Regions from separate parts of the Homo sapiens genome. Here region 1 is linked to region 2. The links are contacts of gene promoters, found by promoter capture Hi-C in human tissues and cell types (Jung and others, 2019). All regions are on one chromosome and are shown on one strand. The core of a region is centred on a gene start or on the middle of the fragment in contact, and the rest is flanking DNA. Distances in the headings are between cores, read along the strand shown. Region 1 holds the start of OLFML3 (olfactomedin like 3). Region 2 overlaps CSDE1 (cold shock domain containing E1).

What was found. The method cuts DNA at HindIII sites, captures the fragments that hold promoters and counts their contacts. A contact is called where the count stands out against the background at its distance.
Region 1: a contact is called between the fragment with the promoter of OLFML3 here and a fragment that was not itself captured in region 2, in 1 of the 25 tissues and cell types used here (IMR-90 fibroblasts).

The regions. Positions count from the first base shown.
Region 1 is chr1:113,977,743-113,981,815 of GRCh38, forward strand. It overlaps OLFML3 (olfactomedin like 3), which reads left to right and starts at 1,732. Exons shown (of 3, transcript NM_020190.5): 1 at 1,732-1,888; 2 at 2,590-2,875; 3 at 3,207-4,073. The coding sequence starts at 1,775. The coding sequence ends at 4,027. HIPK1 (homeodomain interacting protein kinase 1) reads left to right here. Exons shown (of 16, transcript NM_198268.3): 16 at 1-127. RefSeq lists enhancers at 976-1,809, 3,477-4,073. The HindIII fragment of the contact is 5,723 bases long and covers 1-4,073 here.
Region 2 is chr1:114,751,349-114,755,612 of GRCh38, forward strand. The region is part of intron 1 of CSDE1 (cold shock domain containing E1); the gene reads right to left. Among named protein-coding and RNA genes, the nearest start is that of CSDE1, 4.5 kb to the right of the region's middle. The HindIII fragment of the contact is 5,566 bases long and covers 1-4,163 here.

The DNA.
Region 1 (4,073 bases), core at 482-2,981, 770 kb before region 2:
TAATATGGTAAAATGTAGAGCAATTGCAATGCATCAATAAAATGGGTAAATTTTCTGACTTATGTGGCTGTTTTTGACTTCTGTTATAGGATATAAAGGGGATCAATAAATGACATCTTTGAAAGTGGCTAAGCATATTGTATTTGAACATCAGTAGAGTACTAGAGACAATTTCATTCTTCACACAAATCTCCATACTGGAAATGAATAGGGTTTGGCAGGGAATACTTCCCAAGAATGCAGTGTCCAGGGTCCTTACTTCACATCATCTGGATCTGACCCTTTGAAAGAGGTAGAAGACTTCTGAGACCGGCTAATTAAGCTTTGTTTCCTCATATGTTTTGCCAGATAGCAGTAGCAGAATGAAAAGATGAGTAACCACAGGAAGCTGCTATTTTTCCCCTCCTTTCAAACTGTACTGTTAGAGTCATGGTCCTTTTTACAGAAGGAACCTCTCATCAGATTCTGTTGATTCTAAAGTGAATAGAATTTCTCCCGATAAAGAAATAGGGGTTTGTTTCGATTAATGACTGCAGGTCTCTGAGTAAATGCTCTATTTGATTTTTTTTTTCGGCCCGTGTGTCTACCTTATGGCCCAAGTCTACCTTATGGTGGCCATTAATTCATTTTGGGCTCCTGCAGCCTTAGTTGGGATATAGAAATGAGAAACACTCAGAAATACCCTTTTGGACCACAACCAAGAGAAATAACCAATAGTCTTTTCTCCCAGTGGTAAGGAAGTCAGAATACATTGATCTAGACTGCAACAACATATATATATATATCAGATTCCGCCCCCCCGCAATACATGAATGTATAGTAAATTAGTGTGAACTCACTGAACACTCCTCAGTTTTGGTGAGAGACTATATCTGGCCTCTTTCAAGCAAAGGAAAGCCATGTAAAACAGCGCTGCTGTCAGCCTTAACTTCCAGACGATCGAGTTAATTTACTAACTTCTCAGTGACCTGTTTTTTTTTTTTTTTTAATCTCAGTTATATTTTCTTCCTTGGGCTAAATCAGATATTTGCATAGCCCCCAAAGTAGTAATTGGATAGTCTTGGGGGAAATATGCATTTCAGTGGTGAAAACCCCTGTAAATTCAATATATTTGGCTTTTGTGGAAAATTTTCCTCATGGGGTGAAGTCTAAGCCTTAGTTTCTGTATTATCATGAGAGATGACACCAGCTGCTTAGCACAAGGTGGCGCCAATGAGCTTTAGAATAAGTTGGGCTTGACCACTTGGGCCATTGTTTTCCTGCTTCCTCCCTTCAAGCCTCACCTCCCCAGCTCCCAGCTTCTACTGAACAAGGCTGAAAACCCACTCTATTGCAGGGAAAGGGAAAGATTAATGAAAAATGTCAGTTTCTTAAGTCAGCACTGGTGAAACTTTCCTAAAACAGGAATGGCGTTTGCTGAGTTTTCTCTGGGGTCTCTGCTTTCTGCAGCTAGCTTCCCTGCTTGACTGCCTAGAAGGCCTCTGCTTTCGGGTTTCCATCTCTTTCCCCTCCAGAGGACCCTACAGCCTAGGCGGGAGGTGGTTAAGGCTTCTGGCTGCTGTGCAATGGGGCCATCTGTGTTTGATCAATCCTGGCGGAAAGGAGGGGGTGGGGGTTGTAAAGAGAACTGAAAGCATTCCAGAGTAGTGAGAGAGACCCAGAGATCAGGAGAGAAGGCACCGCCCCCACCCCGCCTCCAAAGCTAACCCTCGGGCTTGAGGGGAAGAGGCTGACTGTACGTTCCTTCTACTCTGGCACCACTCTCCAGGCTGCCATGGGGCCCAGCACCCCTCTCCTCATCTTGTTCCTTTTGTCATGGTCGGGACCCCTCCAAGGACAGCAGCACCACCTTGTGGAGTACATGGAACGCCGACTAGCTGCTTTAGAGGTGAGGGACCCCTTTCTCTTCTAGCCCCGCCTAGAAGGATTCCAGGGCTATTGGTTCAACCAGTTTGTTAGGGATCTGGGGATAACAAGAAAGGGCTCTGTTAGAGTCTACAGAAAATTCTCTCTTAATAAGAGGACCTTCGGAATGACAAGCCCTCCTCTTACCCCACATAGAACAATTCCAAAGCAAATCGACTTTTGCGTTTTACCTCTGGGATTAGATAGAATAAGGGGGCAGAGTGGAAACGAGAGCCAAAATTGTGGGGCTGCATCTCCAGAGAAGGTGATGATTCTGTTGAAGTTGGAGGTTCCCGGGGAATCTATAACTTCCTGTCTTTTTAACAGGTTGAGATCCGTAGCATTTTAGTGTCCGAGAGGATAATTGCTAAGGGAGCAGAGACCTCTTCACACCTTCATGCGCTTAGACCTGCCTAGAGGCTCAGATGGCTCAGTGGCACTGCTCACAGAGAACACAGGCTGGAGGACATGGAGTCGGGGTAGGGGCCTAGGTGAATCTCAGCTAGGCTCTTTGCACATTTAGCACCTCTGCACATCTGGTTTCCTTTTCTGCAGGAGTGGAAGGGGATATTGAAGCCTGGCTGAGTTTGCTCTTTTTTTCCCATTCCTGACTCCCGAGTTGGGCCTCTCCCTGCCTGGGAGTTGTAACCCTGCAGCCTCCCTCCTGATCCCCCATCCCTTCAGGAACGGCTGGCCCAGTGCCAGGACCAGAGTAGTCGGCATGCTGCTGAGCTGCGGGACTTCAAGAACAAGATGCTGCCACTGCTGGAGGTGGCAGAGAAGGAGCGGGAGGCACTCAGAACTGAGGCCGACACCATCTCCGGGAGAGTGGATCGTCTGGAGCGGGAGGTAGACTATCTGGAGACCCAGAACCCAGCTCTGCCCTGTGTAGAGTTTGATGAGAAGGTGACTGGAGGCCCTGGGACCAAAGGCAAGGGAAGAAGGAATGAGAAGTACGATATGGTGACAGGTAAATAATCTGAAAGCAGGCCCCTAACTCTTCTCAGAACCGATATTCTTCCTTCCTTGCTTCTTACTCTTTTTTTCGCTTTGTCCCAGTCCATTGTGGCTCTGTCTTCTGGAATCTGTTTTAGGGAAACCTCTGTAATGCCAGGTCTATTAAGGAGAGGTTCTGGGGATCCAGGCCGCTGTGGTACCCGCTCTTTCTCAATTCTCCCTAAGATTGGAGGCAACCACTGGGCAAATGCTCACTATTCTCCAGATCACCCACCCTGGGGGAGTTCCTGCTGGAGGCATCTAATTCTTGCCTCTATTTCCTTTTCCTGTGCTTTTCTCATCAGACTGTGGCTACACAATCTCTCAAGTGAGATCAATGAAGATTCTGAAGCGATTTGGTGGCCCAGCTGGTCTATGGACCAAGGATCCACTGGGGCAAACAGAGAAGATCTACGTGTTAGATGGGACACAGAATGACACAGCCTTTGTCTTCCCAAGGCTGCGTGACTTCACCCTTGCCATGGCTGCCCGGAAAGCTTCCCGAGTCCGGGTGCCCTTCCCCTGGGTAGGCACAGGGCAGCTGGTATATGGTGGCTTTCTTTATTTTGCTCGGAGGCCTCCTGGAAGACCTGGTGGAGGTGGTGAGATGGAGAACACTTTGCAGCTAATCAAATTCCACCTGGCAAACCGAACAGTGGTGGACAGCTCAGTATTCCCAGCAGAGGGGCTGATCCCCCCCTACGGCTTGACAGCAGACACCTACATCGACCTGGCAGCTGATGAGGAAGGTCTTTGGGCTGTCTATGCCACCCGGGAGGATGACAGGCACTTGTGTCTGGCCAAGTTAGATCCACAGACACTGGACACAGAGCAGCAGTGGGACACACCATGTCCCAGAGAGAATGCTGAGGCTGCCTTTGTCATCTGTGGGACCCTCTATGTCGTCTATAACACCCGTCCTGCCAGTCGGGCCCGCATCCAGTGCTCCTTTGATGCCAGCGGCACCCTGACCCCTGAACGGGCAGCACTCCCTTATTTTCCCCGCAGATATGGTGCCCATGCCAGCCTCCGCTATAACCCCCGAGAACGCCAGCTCTATGCCTGGGATGATGGCTACCAGATTGTCTATAAGCTGGAGATGAGGAAGAAAGAGGAGGAGGTTTGAGGAGCTAGCCTTGTTTTTTGCATCTTTCTCACTCCCATACATTTAT
Region 2 (4,264 bases), core at 131-2,630:
TGCTGAGAAATGGATATTTGAAAACATCAGAAGAATGATTATCAGGTGAGAGGTCAGAGCTGATTAAATAGCTCAGACCAGAAGAGCCTAATCGCAATCACTGGTACTAGTAAATACCATGAACAAGTTATTTAATCTCTCTAAGTTTCACTTTCCTCACATGTAAAATAAAAACTCAATAACAGCTGATCTGGCCATTTTCTATTCTCTAACATCCCATGTTCCTTCAAATATCAAATGTTACATACACTTGTCTGATCTTTCAACTTTATTTAGATCATTCTCCTATTACCCAGACTAGATATATGTCTCAGGGTAATGGTGCTCAAATACTTGGGAAGCTTTAAAAAAAAAAAAACAAAAACAAACCTATGCCCAGCCTCCACTCAGAGTAATACAACTGGTTTGAGGTAGGGCCACTTCTTTAACTATCTTGATTCTTCCCCTCTCCATCACCATACCCAATGTTGCAAGTTGTGTTAGTATTTCCCTCGCTATATCTTTTGTATTCATCTCTTATCCTACTAAGTGACATATTTTAGCTCAGGTGTCTAATATATCCGCCAACTTCCAGTGTGCACACTTTCCATTTTCTGTCACATACCACCACCAGACTATCAAAAACTTGAATTTTGGCCAGGTGAGTTGGCTCACGCCTGTAATCCCAGCACTTTGGGAGGCCTTGGCAGGAGGTCTGCTTGAGCCCAGGAGCTCCAGACCAGCCTGGGCAACGTGGAGAAACCCCATCTCTACTAAAAATACAAAAAATTAGCCAGGCATGGTGGTATACGCCTGGAGCCTCAGCTACTTAGGACTGGGAAGTCAAGGCTGCAGAGAACAAGATAGTGACACAGCACTACAGCCTGGGAGACAGATCAGAACCTTGTCTCAAAAAACAAAACAAAACAAAAACTCTCCAATTTCATTTCTCATCTCCCCTGTCAAACATCTTCAGTTATTTTTCCACCATTCTAGATGGGAAGTTTTTAATCCTGGCTATCCACCCACCCCCAGCAACCTTAAACAAACAAACAAACAAAAACCAACAAAATCAAAGCCTGAGTCCCGTACAAAGATTCTAAATTTAACTACACTAGGTTAGGTGCCAGGCCTTGTTATCTCCCCCCAACCCCTGCTCCAAGTGTTTCTGACTTCCAGCCAGGATTAAGAACTACTATTCCAGGTGTCTCTATTCTACCTTCCATCCTTACTCTCTACTGTGTTCCAGTTCTACCAGAAGTCCATTACCTCGCCTAATCCTTAAACACAACTCTTGGGAGATTCCTGAATTCTAGCCACCTTTGCTTATATGGGTCTTCCCACAAAAAAATACTATGTTGTGATCTTCAAGGTGACAAAAAAGCCTTTCTTGACCATTCCAGCAGACTCATTCATTAATTCCTACTAATGAATGGGGCAGTAACATCCACTGCCTGCACCAAGCAATTTGCAGCAAGTGATACCAAGCAATTTCTGTACTTTGTTTACTTCATGTTTTTATGTATCTTGTTCCTCCAATTCTATTTCAAATTTCTGAGAGGTAAACTCAAATTTCTTTATCACAGCCTCCTTTCGCACCTAATCCAGTGCTGCCATATACAACCAAAGGAAAAAGGTAGTTAATCCTTAATAAGCAAAAGGACGCCACAATTCAAGTGTAAACAGTTATGCCACAATTCAAGTGTAAACAGTTATACCACCTTTAATTATATAGTTTTAATTATCCAATCAAGAAATAATCTCTTCTTTAAAAAATACAGACTGTGTATATTGGTTTTATCTTAATGCTTTAGGTGTATTAATGAACCCAAAGAACTCAACATGGAGAAAACAAGTTATCTTGAAACACTTGAACTGGATTAACCCATTCCAGGTTGTCGTATCACATTAAGAACTGTCAAGTCCAAGATTCAGTAACACAAAAAAAGAGATTTCTGGAACTGAAACTCTGGAGTACTGCAGGGCCATTCTTAGGCACTAATGAGGTCTATTAGGAGCTATTAAAGCTCAAACGAACCCACCAACAGTCATGAATAATTTACTGGCCGAATTAACATCTTCACAGCTTCTATAGTTAACTAAATGTTTTTCAATTAAATTAACACTTACTGAAGAACTTAAAGGTATTGGTCAGGCAGTTTAATATAAATAGCTATCCACTCATGCCCGGATTAACATTAATTGGTGCTACTAACCACCTCTTTTGCCTTAACCCTAGGAACACAAGTGCATCTCCTCCATCCCCCTAAAAGCTTGAAACTTAAGTTGCATGAAACACTGGGTATTGGGCTGGGGTGGTGGCTCTCGCTTGTAATCCCCAGCACTGTGGCAGGCCAAGGTGGGAGGATTGTCTGAGACCAGCCTGGGCAACATGGTGAGATGCTGTCTCTACAAAAAATTTTAGAAATAAAAAATAAATTCACTGGGTGTGGTGGCATGCACCTGTAGTCCCAGCTACTCGGGAAGCTGAGGCAGGAGGATCACTTGAATCCAGGAGTTTGAGGCTGCAGTGAGCTATGACTGTGCCACTGCACTCTTGCCTGGGCGACAGAGTAAGACGCTGACTCAAAACAATCGCCCCCACAAACCCACCATAGGGTACCAATAAAAACACTAGGGAACAATTTAAATGTGTATCTGAGAATCATACTGTGTGCTAAGTAATCAACTCCTTTTCCCTTTGCTCAGCATGGAAATAGTATTATTACTTAATCACTGCAATCTCCACCTCCCGGGTTCAAGCGATTCTCCTGCCTCAGCCTCCCCAGTAGCTGGGACTACAGGCGTGTACCACCAGGCCTGGCTGGCTAATTTTTGTATTTTTAGCACAGATGGGGTTTCACCATGTTGGTCAGGCTGGTCTCGAACTCCTGACCTCAAGTGACCCACCTGCCTCAGCCCCCCAAAGTGCTGGGATTACAGGCGTGAGCCACTGCACCTGGCCACCACCTGTTTTATTTCATGTCTTCCTCGGCTGTTTTACCTCAAAGGCCTAGCATAAGCCATGACATAGTCGGCACTAAATGAAGAGGTTAAACTAACACATTTATGTGGTAAGTAATCCATCTAAAATGTATCACACTACCTAGTTTATTATTTTGAAAGTATGTGCAGCACTCACTTCGGGAAAAGTTAATGAAAGGCTAAGCCAGTCTACAAAAGTCTGCTCACCTAACCCACTTCCTTTAGGCAGTATCTTCTTTTAGGCAGGAAAAAACAAAGACCCAAATAGGTAGCATAGGACTGAAAAGTTTCTCTATTGCCTGACATTTCATTGAGCACCACATTTTATAACTGAAGTGCTTAATAGGTCTTAATTCATTTTTACTTTAGGATCTAAGGTAAACGATAAACTCTAGATAATTAACCAACCTAAGTCATCTGTTGAGTAAAAATAAAAAATCAAACTGACACAACTATCTTTTTGTATCTGTGTAGTAACAACTGTGCTGGATTAATTATCTAAACAGCTACTGAGATATTTAAAATTATCTATCACTTAACTGCTTATATATACACCCAGAAACCTAATAGTTTTAAGCAGGACAAATGGCAGTGTGGGAAGATGCTGAAGAAACATTCTAGACACATCAGAAAACACCACAGACCAGCAGTTTCCAACAGAAATACAGTGTAATTATAATTCTAGTAACCATATTACAGTCAAAAGAAACAGAAGGAATTTTAATTAAACGTCTTATTTAACCAATTATATCCAAAATGTTATTCTCTACAGGCAATCAATGTAAAAAAATTGACACTGTTACATTCCTTGAAATCCAATGTTATTATACAATCACAGCACATTTCAATTCAAACTAGTCACACTTCAAGTGCACAACAGCCACACGTGGCTGGCGGCTACCATGTTCCACAGAGTAGGTATAAACTGAGCAGGGGTCTAAAAAAGCACTATTGTGCCAATTAGCAACAGGAAGTAAATGTAAGGGTCTTGAGCAAAGATTTTCACTAATAAAAGTAGGCAGTATCTAGCATAGAAGCTTGTTGTTAATAAATTGGAGAAAAAGAAGTGCAAATAACTGGTTATGTACCGGCTGTAGCTGCAAATCAACGGATAGCTTACATGTGCAACATAGGGGAAACTGATAATTTTCAGCCACACACTGTTTTACCTCAGCATAAAAGGACATTAAAATATTAAAAAGTTTTGTGTTGTTTTTAACTAGGTACCCACACATGCAAGTGGAAAACATTCTAATATCAAAACAAAGGACTTTTTAAAATCCTGACTGGGCAGAAGGGA